Regions from separate parts of the Homo sapiens genome. Here region 1 is linked to region 2. Evidence: promoter capture Hi-C in human tissues and cell types (Jung and others, 2019). All regions are on one chromosome and are shown on one strand. Each heading gives the region's core, a stretch centred on a gene start or on the middle of the fragment in contact. The rest is flanking DNA. Distances are from core to core; before and after follow the strand shown. Region 1 overlaps GTF3A (general transcription factor IIIA). Region 2 holds the start of RNF6 (ring finger protein 6).

What was found. The method cuts DNA at HindIII sites, captures the fragments that hold promoters and counts their contacts. A contact is called where the count stands out against the background at its distance.
Region 1: a contact is called between a fragment that was not itself captured here and the fragment with the promoter of RNF6 in region 2, in 1 of the 25 tissues and cell types used here (dorsolateral prefrontal cortex).

Annotation. Positions count from the first base shown.
Region 1 is chr13:27,430,803-27,437,826 of GRCh38, reverse strand. GTF3A (general transcription factor IIIA) reads right to left here. Exons shown (of 9, transcript NM_002097.3): 5 at 5,023-5,096; 6 at 3,608-3,688; 7 at 2,793-3,022; 8 at 2,635-2,694; 9 at 2,004-2,394. The coding sequence ends at 2,230. It overlaps MTIF3 (mitochondrial translational initiation factor 3), which reads left to right. Exons shown (of 5, transcript NM_152912.5): 4 at 554-711; 5 at 1,934-2,184. The coding sequence ends at 2,152. Among named protein-coding and RNA genes, the nearest start is that of GTF3A, 9.7 kb to the right of the region's middle. RefSeq lists an enhancer at 2,143-3,342. The HindIII fragment of the contact is 5,770 bases long and covers 1-4,241 here.
Region 2 is chr13:26,218,044-26,225,285 of GRCh38, reverse strand. It overlaps RNF6 (ring finger protein 6), which reads left to right and starts at 2,972. Exons shown (of 5, transcript NM_005977.4): 1 at 2,972-3,283; 2 at 3,956-4,038; 3 at 5,619-5,829; 4 at 6,680-6,775. The coding sequence starts at 5,637. RefSeq lists enhancers at 2,912-3,291, 2,437-3,318, 3,319-4,200 and a silencer at 3,742-3,791. The HindIII fragment of the contact is 8,375 bases long and covers 1-5,261 here.

The DNA of each region.
Region 1 (7,024 bases), core at 107-2,606, 1.2 Mb before region 2:
CCTGGGGAGACCTAACTTTTTGTCATCTATAAACTTCTCAATTGTCCCAACACCTTTATTGAGTGGCCGGTTCCTTCTCTATAATTTTCCAGTAGGCAGGATTTCTGGAGACAGAGGGCATGAACACAGGATGTAGGGACCCTTACCTGTCCAACAGTCTGGCTGACCCCTTATAGCAAGGAGAGCATCTCAAAAGGAGTGGGTAGTGCACTCCCAGATGCCAACCCACAGCTGATAGATAAGGATGTTAAGTGCACCATGAAGCCAAACTTGATCCTTTAAACGACTATCTTTTGGTGTTCTTTCAACAAACGATGGTTAACAATAAATGGAAGCATTTCAGATTTTAAGTACCCTTCCAGGGCAGGTAAAAAATTGGTACCTTTATGTGTATCTTCCCCATTTGAAAAGACATTTACTGGTCTGTGAAACTGAAAGCCAGATGAGAAGATTGTCAGGTGGCAACCTAGGATTTTATGATGGGCATGTTGGGAAGTTCAGGGTTCACAGTGGACTAGTCAGTAGTCCTTGCACCCTATCTGTTTCAAACCAGGACCAACCCTGAGAAAGGAACTGATTTTGTCTTCAAATATTGGACAACATGATTTGGACACAAAGACTAAACAGATTCAGCAGTGGATTAAGAAAAAACACCTAGTCCAGATTACCATAAAGAAAGGAAAAAATGTAGACGTGTCAGAAAATGAAATGGTAAGTAAAGAAGGTACAAGCCACTGCTTGTGCTTTGGGTCTTCTGATCTAAAAATACAATTGTAGGCCAGGCGCGGTGGCTCACGCCTGTAATCCCAGCATTTTGGGAGGCCAAGGTGGGCGGATCACGAGATCAGGAGATTGAGACCAACCTGGCTAACATGGTGAAACCCCGTCTCTACTAAAAATACAAAAAATTAGCCAGGCGTGGTGGCGGGCACCTGTAGTCCCAGCTACTGGGGAAGCTGAGGCAGGAGAATGGCGTGAACCCGGGAGGCGGAGCTTGCAGTGAGCCGAGATCGCGCCACTGCACTCCAGCCTGGGTGACAGAGCAAGACTCCGTCTCAAAAAAAAAAAAAAAAAAAAAAAATTGTAGAAAATCTGAAATATAAAGACAAAGTGACTGGTAATTCTTCCACCCAGTGATGTTAACAGCTTTCTAGTTTGCTTTTCAAAACTAAGCATACTGTAGATATAGTTTCCATTACAGCGTATTTTGCCATATGAACACATTATTCCTTAAAAGCAATATACTATTGTTTTATAAATTGTAGAATAACCCTTAAACAGGAAAATTAGAAACTTTATAGATTTTTTGTTTCTTCTTTGTACTTATAGGGGCATTAATTACGTAGACTGTCTTCTAGAAAGTGTGTAGTTTCCAATCCCATAAGTTTATGGAATACCTATTTTGCTTTTTTTTTTTAAAAGTTAGATAACTTTATCATCCACTAAGGGTATCCTTAGTAATCCAGCTCCACAGTAGAGTCACTTAAGCATAGGTCGCAACCCAGCTGATGCAGAATTTCTTGAGCCCAGGTATCCATTTGTTTCAGTCACTGAGAGAGACTCTGTTAGGGGCAATAGAGAGTGCTGAGAACTGCTCGGCTGACACCTTGGGGATGAGGAGGTATTTTGCCAATGCCCAAACCCAGTGCTTTCTGTTTGTGGGAGAGGGTAATGCTGAGCCAAACGTAGCCTCTTCGTGCCATGACGAAGTGGAGATTTAAAATTAGGAAGCATTCAGCATGTCAGTTTAGTTACATGGTGTTATTGTACAGATTTCAGTCAACTTAACCAGATACGTATGAACTGATTAGCTAATCACTTAACCGACAGCAGCAATTCAAGGGTGCCAGTTTTTGTGAATGTTCAAGCAGAACATTAGAAAGCACCAAAGCCTCTGATTTTAAATTAATCTTTGGCTGTTTCCCTTTTTTAGGAGGAGATATTTCATCAAATACTCCAGACTATGCCTGGAATAGCTACATTCTCATCTAGGCCACAAGCTGTTCAAGGAGGAAAAGCTTTAATGTGTGTTCTTCGTGCTTTCAGCAAAAATGAGGAGAAGGCATATAAAGAAACTCAAGAGACCCAGGAAAGAGACACTTTGAACAAAGACCATGGAAATGATAAGGAATCAAATGTTCTGCATCAGTAATTTTAATAAAGAAAAGCATGCTCTGAGAGAAAGCTCGCTCCTTGGTCTGCAGTCCTTTAAACAAAGCAGTGCAGTTCTTAGCCAAGGGTAAGTACTGCAACTGTCGAGAGCATCTTGTCTTCCACACAGTTGGGTGACTCTCCGTTTTGACACAAAGATAAGCCTTGCCCTTGTTTCCTTTTGGGAGGGATATATCCACTGAGATGAGAGGCCAAACTCCGTTTTTCACGAGATTTTTTGACCTTTGGGAATAAGGAAGACACACGATTAGAATTCAAAATCAAAACTGTCTGAGTTAATTTTACGATAGTCATATGTACCAGCAGATATAGTGTACAACATTGCTTTATGAGGAAGTAAAGTCTTCAACAGTAGTGCAGACTCAAACAGTAAAGCAGGTGAAAAGAATTCCAAACAGACTCCTTCTGGCCTTAAACAATTTCCACTTGAAAACTAAGCTTGCCTAAGTAGTTTCAACTTACTTTGAGCTTCATTTTCTTCTTGTCAGGATCATGTACAACAGCATGCCTAGTGAGACTTTGCTACAATGAAAGAGAAAGTTATTAATGAAATATTAATATGAAAACCATGTTGTGAAAGCATAGACTATAGGACCATGAGTATGAGGGTGAGTGCTTACTTTCATTGCAAATGTTTTGCCACAGCCAGCATGTTCACACACAAAAGGGCGGCTTTCCTCATGGAAGGAGAGGATATGGCTTTGGAGATTAAACACAGTTGTATAGGTTCTTCCACAGCCTTCTCTTGGACAGCGACATACATCCCTTTCTGGGGCATGAGTTTTCATGTGTTGCTTAAGGTAATCTTTGCGTTTAAATGTTTTCCGGCATACTTCACATAGTATTTCCTCTGGTGGGACAGACAGACAAATTTCACAAATTTCCCCAGATATTACCATTTAGAAAAAATTAATACCTAATATATAAGTAACATTCAGTGCCTGAAACCTGATCACTATATACAAATCAGAAATTCCCAAGGAAACAACCCCAGTTTTTATCACCTAGGAAGTTTGTCTCAATTCTCTGAAGTTCTTAAATGCCACACAGTCATTGTTCACTTGCCAAGAGGCAGGGCTCTCAGGAAGGTGACTGTGGGGAGGTACAGAAAATGAAGCAGACCAGTGTCCTTCCTTGTCCCCCAGTATGCAGGGTACTGTTTCCCAGGCGGTCCCACAGAACAGCAGTGCCTCCCGAAATTCTTCACTACAGACCTGCCACCGCCTTCAGCATGCTAATTGTGCATGGTGGGGTGGCTCAGAGACCTGGCACAGCTCTGCTCACCTTTCCAACAACATCATACCCAGCACTTCACAAAATATCATAGAGAAACCCTTTTACTTTAAAGCACACAGCATTTCACTCTTGAAAAGCACTAAATCAGTTCTGTGGGGACAAACATTTACACCATGCCTGCCATTCATGCCTGCCTTACCTTTATGGGTTTCTCTCACATGTTTCAGAAGTTCCGTCCATGTTTTTGCCACAAAGGAACATCCTTTTTGACATACATAGCCTATTAAAAAAATTGGTGCATTGTCTGTCATGAATACTCAGTGTAAACACTGACCATAACTAGAAAGGAAACTTAGGTGCCTATATAATTTTCCATTCCCCGCCTAATAGTATTCAACTCAGCCTCTTGAGGTGGGAATAAAAACTAAAAAAAGATTGATGTTATAGTAAAACTGAACAGTGGCACAGCAAGGTGCCTCCCTTTAAGGATTTTACCTTCCTGTGAAGCAAACTTCAGAGTTCCCATCTTCTCAGCGTGATCACGGAATAGGCAAACTTCACAGGAAGGATGCCTAAGGATGCCTTTTCCTCTCTAAGAGTTCTCAGGAAGTTGGGTAGGCTGTGTATGGACTCCCAACTGCTTTAACCTCCTATCTCCATGTCTTATTTCCCTTCCCCTGCCTGCTCTATCCTCGCCTCTATTTTCCTCAGCAAACATACTCTGCAGTCGGTCCCTTGTCCATGGCACACCACCAACTTTTCAGTAGTGTTACCATGCCCACCTCTGGCTTCCTCTAGTCTGGCCATCTTGTAAGTGTCATACTGCACAAAAAAAGTAGGGTACATTATATTTTAACTTTATCACAAAAAAAAAAAAAAAAGTTTTTTTTTGTTTTTTTTTTTTAAAAGAGTACAGCTAAGGAAGAAAATAAACTGGAAGGACCCAGAGAAAAACACTGAATAACAATGGATATGTGCAAAGCACTAAAATGGGATTAATAAGTATACAACACTAGGGCTGAGTTCCACCCAACTAGAAACTAAAAACAATGAGGCTGCCTCTCACTGTTAGCTACTAACCTCTTAAAAAAAAAAAAATCATAAATTCTAGGACCTGGGAAATTGAAATACAGATTAGCAAAAATCCCTCAAGGAAACAGATCATAGATTCAAATAGTTAATATAATCAAGTCTTTTTTTTTTTTTTTTGAGAAACGTAACATCTGATGGCTCTCAAAATGTCACACGATTATCCAAGCCTTGTGAATGGCCAACAAGGAAAAGAATGGCACAGGCAGTAAATATTAATAGAAGAGGTTAAAAATGACAGAAGCATCAAAGCCATGGCTGGAGCATCAGCACATTCGTCAGTGTAATGTGTAACCAGGCGCTTGTTGTGAACAAACAACACATTACATGTGAACAGCAATGATACGGTAGTGGAAAAACAGACATATACAGTGCCTCTTTGGACAAGAGTGTAAGACCCAAATAAGCAGGATGGTGTCCCCTGTTCACAGGGTTCCCATCTTTTCAGCGTGATCACAGAACAGATTCAAAGGCGCCCAGGATTTGGCATCCCCCTCGGAGCACACCCAGGCTATCCGTACACACCCTCGTGGGCCTTGGCATGTCGTTTCAGCTTGCTGGGTGATGCAAAGTGTTTCCCACATCCTTCCTGGGTACACCTGCATTGGCAACACATGAGGTATTAGCCAATCCATTTTCACAGAGAACTCCGCTCAAGGTCAATGGCACTTTGTCCTGTTTCTCCCACCAAAGTCTTGCCTCTTCCCATAACCAAACCCATGTTAAAATGTAGCTCTCATCACAGGTGAGATTCAAGTTACTTGACCAGCTTTAGGACAAAACAAACTGTTGGAGAAAAAAGTCACGTTACTTTTTTTGACCCATTTAAACAGTTTTCATCTTTATACCTCTGGAAATATACTCTGCTTTCATGGCTACAAAAAGATAGTTCAAGAGGTTATCTGACTTGGCTTAGATAAACCCCTAAGCCATTCTGAATCACTTGTGTCTAGCTTTCCTAATGATGCTGCATAGGGGGTGTGCGAGACAGCACAGCAGTAGATGCATCTGCCTCTGGTGAGCAATAAAAAGCACGGGCCCCCTCTGTGCTAAAGCCATCAGCAGCAAAGCAGCAGCAGCAGACCCACAAGCAAGGACAGGCAAGGTCACTGCAGCAACTCCAAGGCACAGGGCAGCCTGTGCAAGTCAAGGGAAAGTGCCGGATGGCCAGAGCCATGCAGAGAGCCGCTGGCCCTTTTGCAGGTCTACCCAACTTGTCCAGCCACCCTCACGTTCCTCAAAAAACCCTAATTGCAGATAAACCCAACTACTTGTTTTGTTCTACAGGAAAAGCATAATGAGTGTCTCCATAATGACATTTCATATAGTTGCACAGGCTCTATTTGAATAGTTAAGTAATTTCTCAGCCTTTAAGCTTAACCACAACTAGAATAATCTCAAAAATTATTTTGAAACACATTAAATATTTCTTTCAGAGCAAAGTAAACCTTTAAAATGCTCCCAATATATAAATGTGCATATGCAGTACATTTTAACAGAAAAATGTTGATTAGGAAGCTTTCAGAAGATTTGTCCCACCGTTGCTTTAAATTTCAATGGCTTTTGGGGTTGCAAGTGTTTTTTCGTTACGTGGATGAATCCTATAGTGGTGCTGAGATTTTAGCGCACCATCACTCAAGCAGCATACACTGTACCCAATATGTAGTCTTTCATCCCTCACCCCCCTCCCCAAACTCCCCACCCCAAGTCCCCAAAGTTTATGAAATCACTGTGTCTTTTTGTCCTCATAGTTTAGTGCCCACTTAGTGAAAACTATGGTATTTGGTTTTCCATTCCTGAGTTACTTCACTGAGAATAATGGCCTCCAGCTCCATCCAAGCTGCTGCAAAAGACATCATTTTGTTCCCTTTTATGGCTGTGTAGTATTCCATGGTGTATATACATCACGTTTTCTTTATCTACTCATTGGTCGATGGGCACTTAAATTGGCTCCATGTATTTGCAATTGTGAACTGTGCTGCTGTAAACGTGTGTGCATGTGTCTTTTTCATATAGTGACTTCTTTTCCTTTGACCAGACTTCAGATTATACTACGAGGCTACAGTTACCAAAACAGGGTGGCACTGGTTTAAAAATAGGCACTTAGACCAATGGAACAAAACAGAAATAAAGCCAAATACTTACAGCCACCCGATCTTCAACAAAGCATATAAAAACGTAAACTGGGGAAAGGACTCCCTATTCAATAAATGGTGCTGGAAAAACTGGATCCCTATCTCTCACCTTATACAAAAATCAACTCAAATTAAGTTTATGACCTGAAACTAAAAATTCAAAATGAAAACATTGGAAAAACTTCTGGACATCAGCCTAGGCAAAGAATTCTTACTAAGGCCCTGAAAGCAAATGCAACAAAAATAGAAATAAATAAATGGGACCTAATTAAACTAAAAAGCTTCTGCACAGCAAAAGAAATAATCAGCAGAGTAAACAGACAACCCAGAGAGTGGGAGAAAATACTGGCACATTATGCATCCAATAAAGAATGTATATCCAGGATCTACAG
Region 2 (7,242 bases), core at 1,723-4,222:
CAACTTAGGTTTTTACGTTTGGTTTACAGCTCTTATTATTCTAGTGGTAAGCATAGTAAATCTTTCTGTTTTTGTTTTTTTTGAGATGGAGTCTCGCTCTGTTACCAGGCTGGAGTGCAGTGGCACAATCTCAGCTCACTGCAACCTCCGCCTCCCAAGTTCAAGCGATTCTCCTGCCTCAGCCTCCCAAGTAGCTGGGACTACAGGTGTGCGCCACCACACCCAGCTAATTTTTGTAATTTTAGTAGAGATGGGGTTTCACCATGTTGGCCAGGATGGTCTCAATCTCTTGACCTCATGATCTGCCCGCCTTGGCCTCCCAAAGTGCTGGGATTACAGGTGTGAGCAGCTGTGCCTGGTCAAGTATAGTAAATCTTAACAGTCATTTGGAATTAGCCCTTCACTAACTTTCAATCTCATTCATATACATATTTAATATCTTCAAACCAACATTTTAAACTGTATTTATACATTTAATATTTTATCTCATTCACAAGTACTTCAAATGTTACATGTAATTTCGTCTTTAAATCTTATATAATAATTTTTAAACTAATAATAAAACAATATGGGGAGCCTATATTTCTCTTTGCTGCTCTGATGCCATCCATAAACTTAGCAAGATTTCAACTTCAACTTAAAACTTGAAATCGAGTGCTCCATTTTGTTTTAAATTGTAATTAAGGCTGTCGTTTTATGAAGCCAAAATCTTTTAAACATGACAAGTACATAATTTACCAGATATACAGAGAATCCTTTTAATGTTATGGTTTTAATTATTTTAGATCTTTGTATTCCTAATTGTAAAAAGTCCAGGAGTTACATGAGGCATACACACTACAAAGGCCAGGTACCAATCCAATAAACAGAAATTAATTAGACCAGAGACCTTGGCAGGTTCTGAGACCTGGAGTAGATATCCAGAATGATTCATCTGTCTGTTCCAGCTGTTGTATCTAAGCCCCTCTTTGTAGTCATTTTGTCTTGGACTACAAAAACTGAAGCAAGGTGTTGGATTCAAGTTACATACATTACCTGATTCTCTACTCACAAAAACCTGCAACTTCCTACCTGGTAAATCACTTGATTGGATTTTTATTTAGACATTTTTATAATAGTTTTTTTTTTATTCTTAGGGTATATAATAGGAAATAGGAAAAATAGGAAGAGACACATATGTCTTTTCCACTCAACATGTAAAAAGTATTTGCACTTGGATTATTGCATTTGATTGCACTCTCCAAAATTCACAGATATTAAAAATGATTTCTACTTGTTATTTTCTATGATGTGTGTTCACAATATCTGAAGTCGTTGTACTGTGTGCATTAATCCCGTTTGCCAAAAGATTGCATTTTTCTCTGCTCATCTATGCAGTAGGCTGAGGAGAATGTTCTGCCAAGTGCTGTGCTAAGTTCTGGGATTACAAAAATGAATTAGACCATTTGATCACACTTAAGCAGTTCAGACTCTAGGTAGTAAAGACCTAAAAACAGAAAATCATCTTAAGTATTTGCTCAATGGCTCTTTTTCCATGGGAAAAGAGGGCAAGGACTTCATTCTATGAGGACATGACTGTCTGATTCACGGCTGTCATCACCAGCACCTAATACATAGTCACACTCACTATTTGTTAAATACATGAATACATGCTAAAATAGGGTTTTATATATAGAGGGAGTATGGGAGCCCCCAAAAGGGACATTTGCTTAGTTTTATGTGTAAATATCGGGCTGGAGGGTGAGGTAAGGGTGTTATTTCAGAGGTATCAGGAAAAATTCCTTAAAGATGAGAACTGAGCTGAGTTTTGGGAGACAGAGGAAATTAGGTAAAAGTGGAGTTGGGGGTTGCTTAGGAGTTCCCATATCTTGTGGCGGAACTTCAAGCAGTTTCGGAGTGCCAAGACAACAGCCTGTAAATGTAAGCAGAAGAAAGATCTGGAAGGGCTTTCTAGGCTGTTTTATATATTTCCATTTTAGTATCCATATCCATATGCTTATTTTAAACACTTGTCCATAGATCCTTACTACACTGGTAGCTCATTGATGCTAAGGACTGCATGTAGCTTGTTATCCAGGTGCCCAGCATAATAATGGGGATATGGTAGTTCCTCAAAAGTTAATGCAGAAATGAAAGAACAAACGGAAGAATAACAAGTAACGGCATTGTGAGCACTCTCCAGTGATGAAGTCATCAGATGGTAGGGATGTCAGGAAAGGGGACTATACCAGGTTAGACAGAGACCTACTCAGCATCTTAACTAACGGTGAGGTAAGTTTAGTAAGCCTCACATCTCAGAAATAAAATCAGAGGGAGGAATGTTGGGAGTTTCAAACTGCTTTCCTAGCGGGAAGGTGAAAAAACACAAAATATAGTGGGGTGCGGTGCCTCATGCCTGTAATCCCATTTTGCTGAGGTGAGAGGATTGCTTGAGGCCGAGTACGAAACCAGCCTGGGCAACATAGCGAGACCCCCGTCTCTACAAAAGAAAAAATGTGAAATTAATGGCAAGCGCCTGTAGTTCCAGCTACTGGGATGAGGAGGGAGGATCGCTGGAGGCTGCAGTGAGCTACGATCGCTCTAGCCTGGGCGACAGGATGAGACCTTGTCTCAAATAGAGATAGACAGACAGACAGACTTCAGAATTTATTAGGGTTTGTAATTTCCAGGTTCCAAAGCACAGCAAGGGAAAGGGCCTGGCTGGGTAGTACGTTACACCCGGAAGTAAAGAGACGCATACACCGTTGGGTGCACTTTATAGTCTGGCTGGCAAACGAGCGACACCGACGCGCAGAGTTAAGTGCTGGGACTTCCCAAGCCTGGAAAGCAGACCGTGTCTCTGCAACTACGCGGCTGCCACGAGCGCTGAGCGGCCGGGCATTTGGCCTCGAGGAGGAGGCACTGTAAGGGCGGCGCAAGAGGGCGGAACGCGGGACGCCAGGCACCCTAGCTCCCGACGGACGCAGTTTTCAGTTGCACGGGCGAGCTCCGGGCCGGCTGCGGAGCGACTCCCCGCCGCCAAGTGGGCGGCGTGGCTGTCGGGAAAGAAGGGCTGGGGCCTGCCGTTCTTCCTCCCGAGTATCCCCTCCAGCTGGACGACCCCACGCTGCAGCACGGGCTTCCGGCTTCTCTCCTCAGTGGCCAATTCGAGGGCACAGCGGGCTCCGGAGGCGCGGCGGCAAGCCTATCCCGCCTCCCAACCACAGCCTCCAGCACCCGAGAGAACGGCCGCCCACAGCACACGTTCTCCGGACAGGAGGGCGAAGGCCCAAGACCTGGAGAGGTGGGCTCGAGGGAAAGATCTGGGTCCCACCACTACTTCCTGGAGACGCCGGGGAAAGCAGGCCATCCTTCGAGCCACCCATCTCTTCTCCGATTGGTTAACTGCCTTCTTATTGCGCTCCGCTGGCTGGTGATTGGTTGGGATGCACCGTCTATCACCTGCTTCCTTGTGAGAATCTAGGTCTCTAAGGGAAGCGTTACTTGAGGCTCGGTTGGGAAGAGGTTGGTTGGGCCTCTTGAGCCCACTTTATTTATCGTAGTGGGGATCGTCCCCCGGCGCGAGCTTCCGTCGCAACGGCCGGGAAAGAAACCAGTAGCGGGACGGAGGGCGGGGGTGGCAAGAAAGTCAAGGTTTAGAAGTAAGCCGGAGACGCCTAACCCTGGTAACATCCGAATGGGAACGGGATAGGAAGGAAGGCCTTTGAGAGAGGAGGCGTAAACCCAGGAACAGTGACAGTGTAGGACGAAAGGCCTAAGTTTGTTGCGGAAGGTAGGGGCCTTGCGGGAGGTTTTCGTGACCTAATTGTATGGGGATCTAATTTTCTAGATGTGTCTAACAAAATCCACTGGAGAATTTGCTTTGGCTTTGCAGCAGAGTGGGGAGACTACCACCCGTTCCTGGCCTTTAAAGAAACAGTTTATTGAATTATTCAACTCTCTTTTATTGCTTCAGATGGGCAGCTCTCAAAAAAGGCACAAACAATTGAAGGATGGATACCATGGCATATGTTAAAAGCGTGTTGAAAGGAAAATAAGGTATTCGCTTTGTTTTCATTGTGATTAACTGTATAAGAAAATTACCTTTAAGGAGAAGCTCAAGTTTTAAATAATATTAGGGTAACTTGATTTTATGATAGGCTTCAACTTGTAAAATTATTTATTACAAAAATCCTATTATTGCTGTACCTACGAAATATGCTCTTTGCTAATTATGGTCTTAATCTGAAGATAGAGATCTTGAGTTTTTAGTAGTGTTAATTCATATTTGAGTGGATAATGTTACTAGGTCATTTGTTCAAAATGACATAATAAAATAACCACAGTGAAAAAAATCCTTGAATTTGTAATTTAGTGTTACAGGTGAAATTGAATAGTTGCTTACTCCAACAGTATTTTAGACTTGTAGGCTAATTTCACCTTATATTTAAAGCAGCTTGCTTATTAAATACCTAGTGTATTTCGAGAGGCAGAGTTGCACAGTTGCTTCACTGGTAGCCTAGCCATTTGAGCCTCCAGCCTCTACTGAGTCAGGTGCTGTATTACTCATACCCTTTAGTGACATGCCAGAAATTGTCGAGGAATAGTTTATTTCATCTGCAGAACACCCAAATTAGCTCTTAACAGCAGACCTGGTCCTACCCTGGAAAACTCTAATCAAGGATTGGGGATGAGATTTGGGCATCTAGATTTTTAAAAATACCCTTAAGTGAGTTTGAGAACCATTGCTTTAGTGTGACTTACTGAATAGATGTATTTAAGAAATTCTAAAATATTTGTGAAACAAACATCTTTCTCTCTTGATTTCCATGTAATTTAAAAGTGAGCTTCTCAGGAGTGACACTTAAATATAATCCAAAAATAGTGGTTTCTTAGGCAAAGTCAGGAAGTTTCACTGGCATTCTGAAACTCCTGGGACTAACCATTCCAGGCTTAAGGATGAGGCTTGATATGGGGTGATACAAAGTGCTCTGATGCACTTTCACAATCCTTGAGCCATACATGATGTCTTGTTTCCTGTTGGGTTTCAAAGTCTTCCTGGTAAGCTTTAATAAGAGACCACCTTCCAGTTTGTTCAGTAGATATTAATTAGGCTAAATGATTTTCACCTCATCAAAGTGCAGTGGGGGATAATATTACATTCATGAGCCTTATTTTGGAAAGAATACCTTGCTGAAAACAAATGTAAATTATATCATCCCAGTATCCCTTTGCTCATTAAGTGAAGAATGTGCATAATTCAAGCCTAAAATTTGTAATTAATGTGAAGTACCCAGATCCTGAAACATAAATGAGGACTTCTGGATCAACTTTTCCAGATCGTCAACATGGTCAAAAATGAGATAATCACTATGGTATTCAGGCATGAGCATTGTGTGGTAAACCCAAATCCAGTCTGACTTAATGGCTTTAGGCAAAGAAGTAAGTGCCAATTGTGTTGTATTTCCTAGAAGCTGTTTTTCATTTTATATGTAAGCTTCTCACTGCAAGATTTGGCAAATACAGTATTTGGGTAGGGGACAACATTTAAAAATTAAGAAAAACTGCAAGTTAAAAATACAAAGCCAAATGTGGTCCATGACTTAACACCTTGAATGTTGTTTATATTGTTTGAACAGAAAGCCAGGAATCTCAGGATGAATCAGTCTAGATCGAGATCAGATGGTGGCAGTGAAGAAACCTTACCTCAAGACCATAATCATCATGAAAATGAGAGAAGATGGCAGCAAGAGCGTCTCCACAGAGAAGAGGCCTATTATCAGTTTATTAATGAACTCAATGATGAAGATTATCGGCTTATGAGAGACCATAATCTTTTAGGCACCCCTGGTAAGAGATGGGTAAAAGAGGAAACACCCTTTTTTCATCATTTAGATGGAAGGATTTCAAGATAAGGAGAATTGGTATTCTTTTTCCTTGCTTCTCTTTATGAAAATATAGTATATTGTTTTTGTGAGTTTAAGAACTTTTTAGTATAATAAAGTAGAAAATCACTGGCTTCTGTATTTTATAAGGTGAAAATAGGGGACATGGAGCACTATTATACAAATGCCAAACTAAGAAACAGGTTAATGTACATAATGGTGTTAAGTATTTACATATATGGTCCTATTTGTAATTTTTATACAAATAAAATATGACTTAAAACCCAATTTGAACTCATTTGGGGTATTATAATTTATTTATTCAGCTGAATTAATAGCTCCCCCCAAAGCCCAATGTGTTCCATAAAGTTTTTACAAATGAACTAATGGAAATTTGTATGTTTATATATTGTGTGTTTGTATATTGATGACCCATATAATGAAGTATTTGGGATAAAATTCAAGTAAATATTTGAAGTTTTCTCTATAAATGCTCCCTTAATTTCTTTTTAACTGACAAAAATCCACAGTTATAGCTTATAGATTCCTAAGTGTATCAACTGGCAGCACTTTACCAACTATTCAAATTAAATCTTATTTTAATAATTTTTAATAAAAGATTAATAAATGAAGCACAACCGAATTGATGCACATTTGTACCAGTTGAATATTTTTAACTGTCTTCAATTTACAGAACATATGAAAGTAATAAGACATTTGTCTTCTATAGGTTACTAAAGATTAGTCTTACCCTTCATGAGGTCTCATAAAACTTAATTCAGAATTCTTAAATGAGCAGTTTTTCATTGTTTTAGGAGAAATAACATCAGAAGAACTGCAACAGCGGTTAGATGGCGTCAAGGAACAACTAGCATCTCAGCCTGACTTGAGAGATGGAACGAATTACAGAGGTACTATGGAGTCCTTTCCATAAGGAACAGGCTTGATTGGAGCACTTGCAGAAATGAAATTCTTAGACCTTGTATAGTATGTTTGTCTTCAATTTTTTCCAGTTTTAATGTGATACTCATTCAGATAATATATATATGAGTAGTAAAGCAGTATGGTTAAGCAGTATAGGACAGAGGAATGAATGCAAAGATGTCTTAAACACACAGATTGCCTTCAGAGAGCTTTATGTAATAATATACAATTAAGTTAATTCCCAGCATGCTTCTTTTTAATCTTGGAATGTACACATTACTTTTTCTAAAGTGATATTACTTAGCTTCTAAAAATTTATATACAGAACCGTGTAGAAAGACTGAGTTAGGAAACCTGTTTTTGTTTCTTTGTTCTGTTTGATGGTTTACATATAAAAAGTTCTTATAAGGAAAGTACTATAAAAGAACTTCAAACTAAATGAAGTATGTAGAGT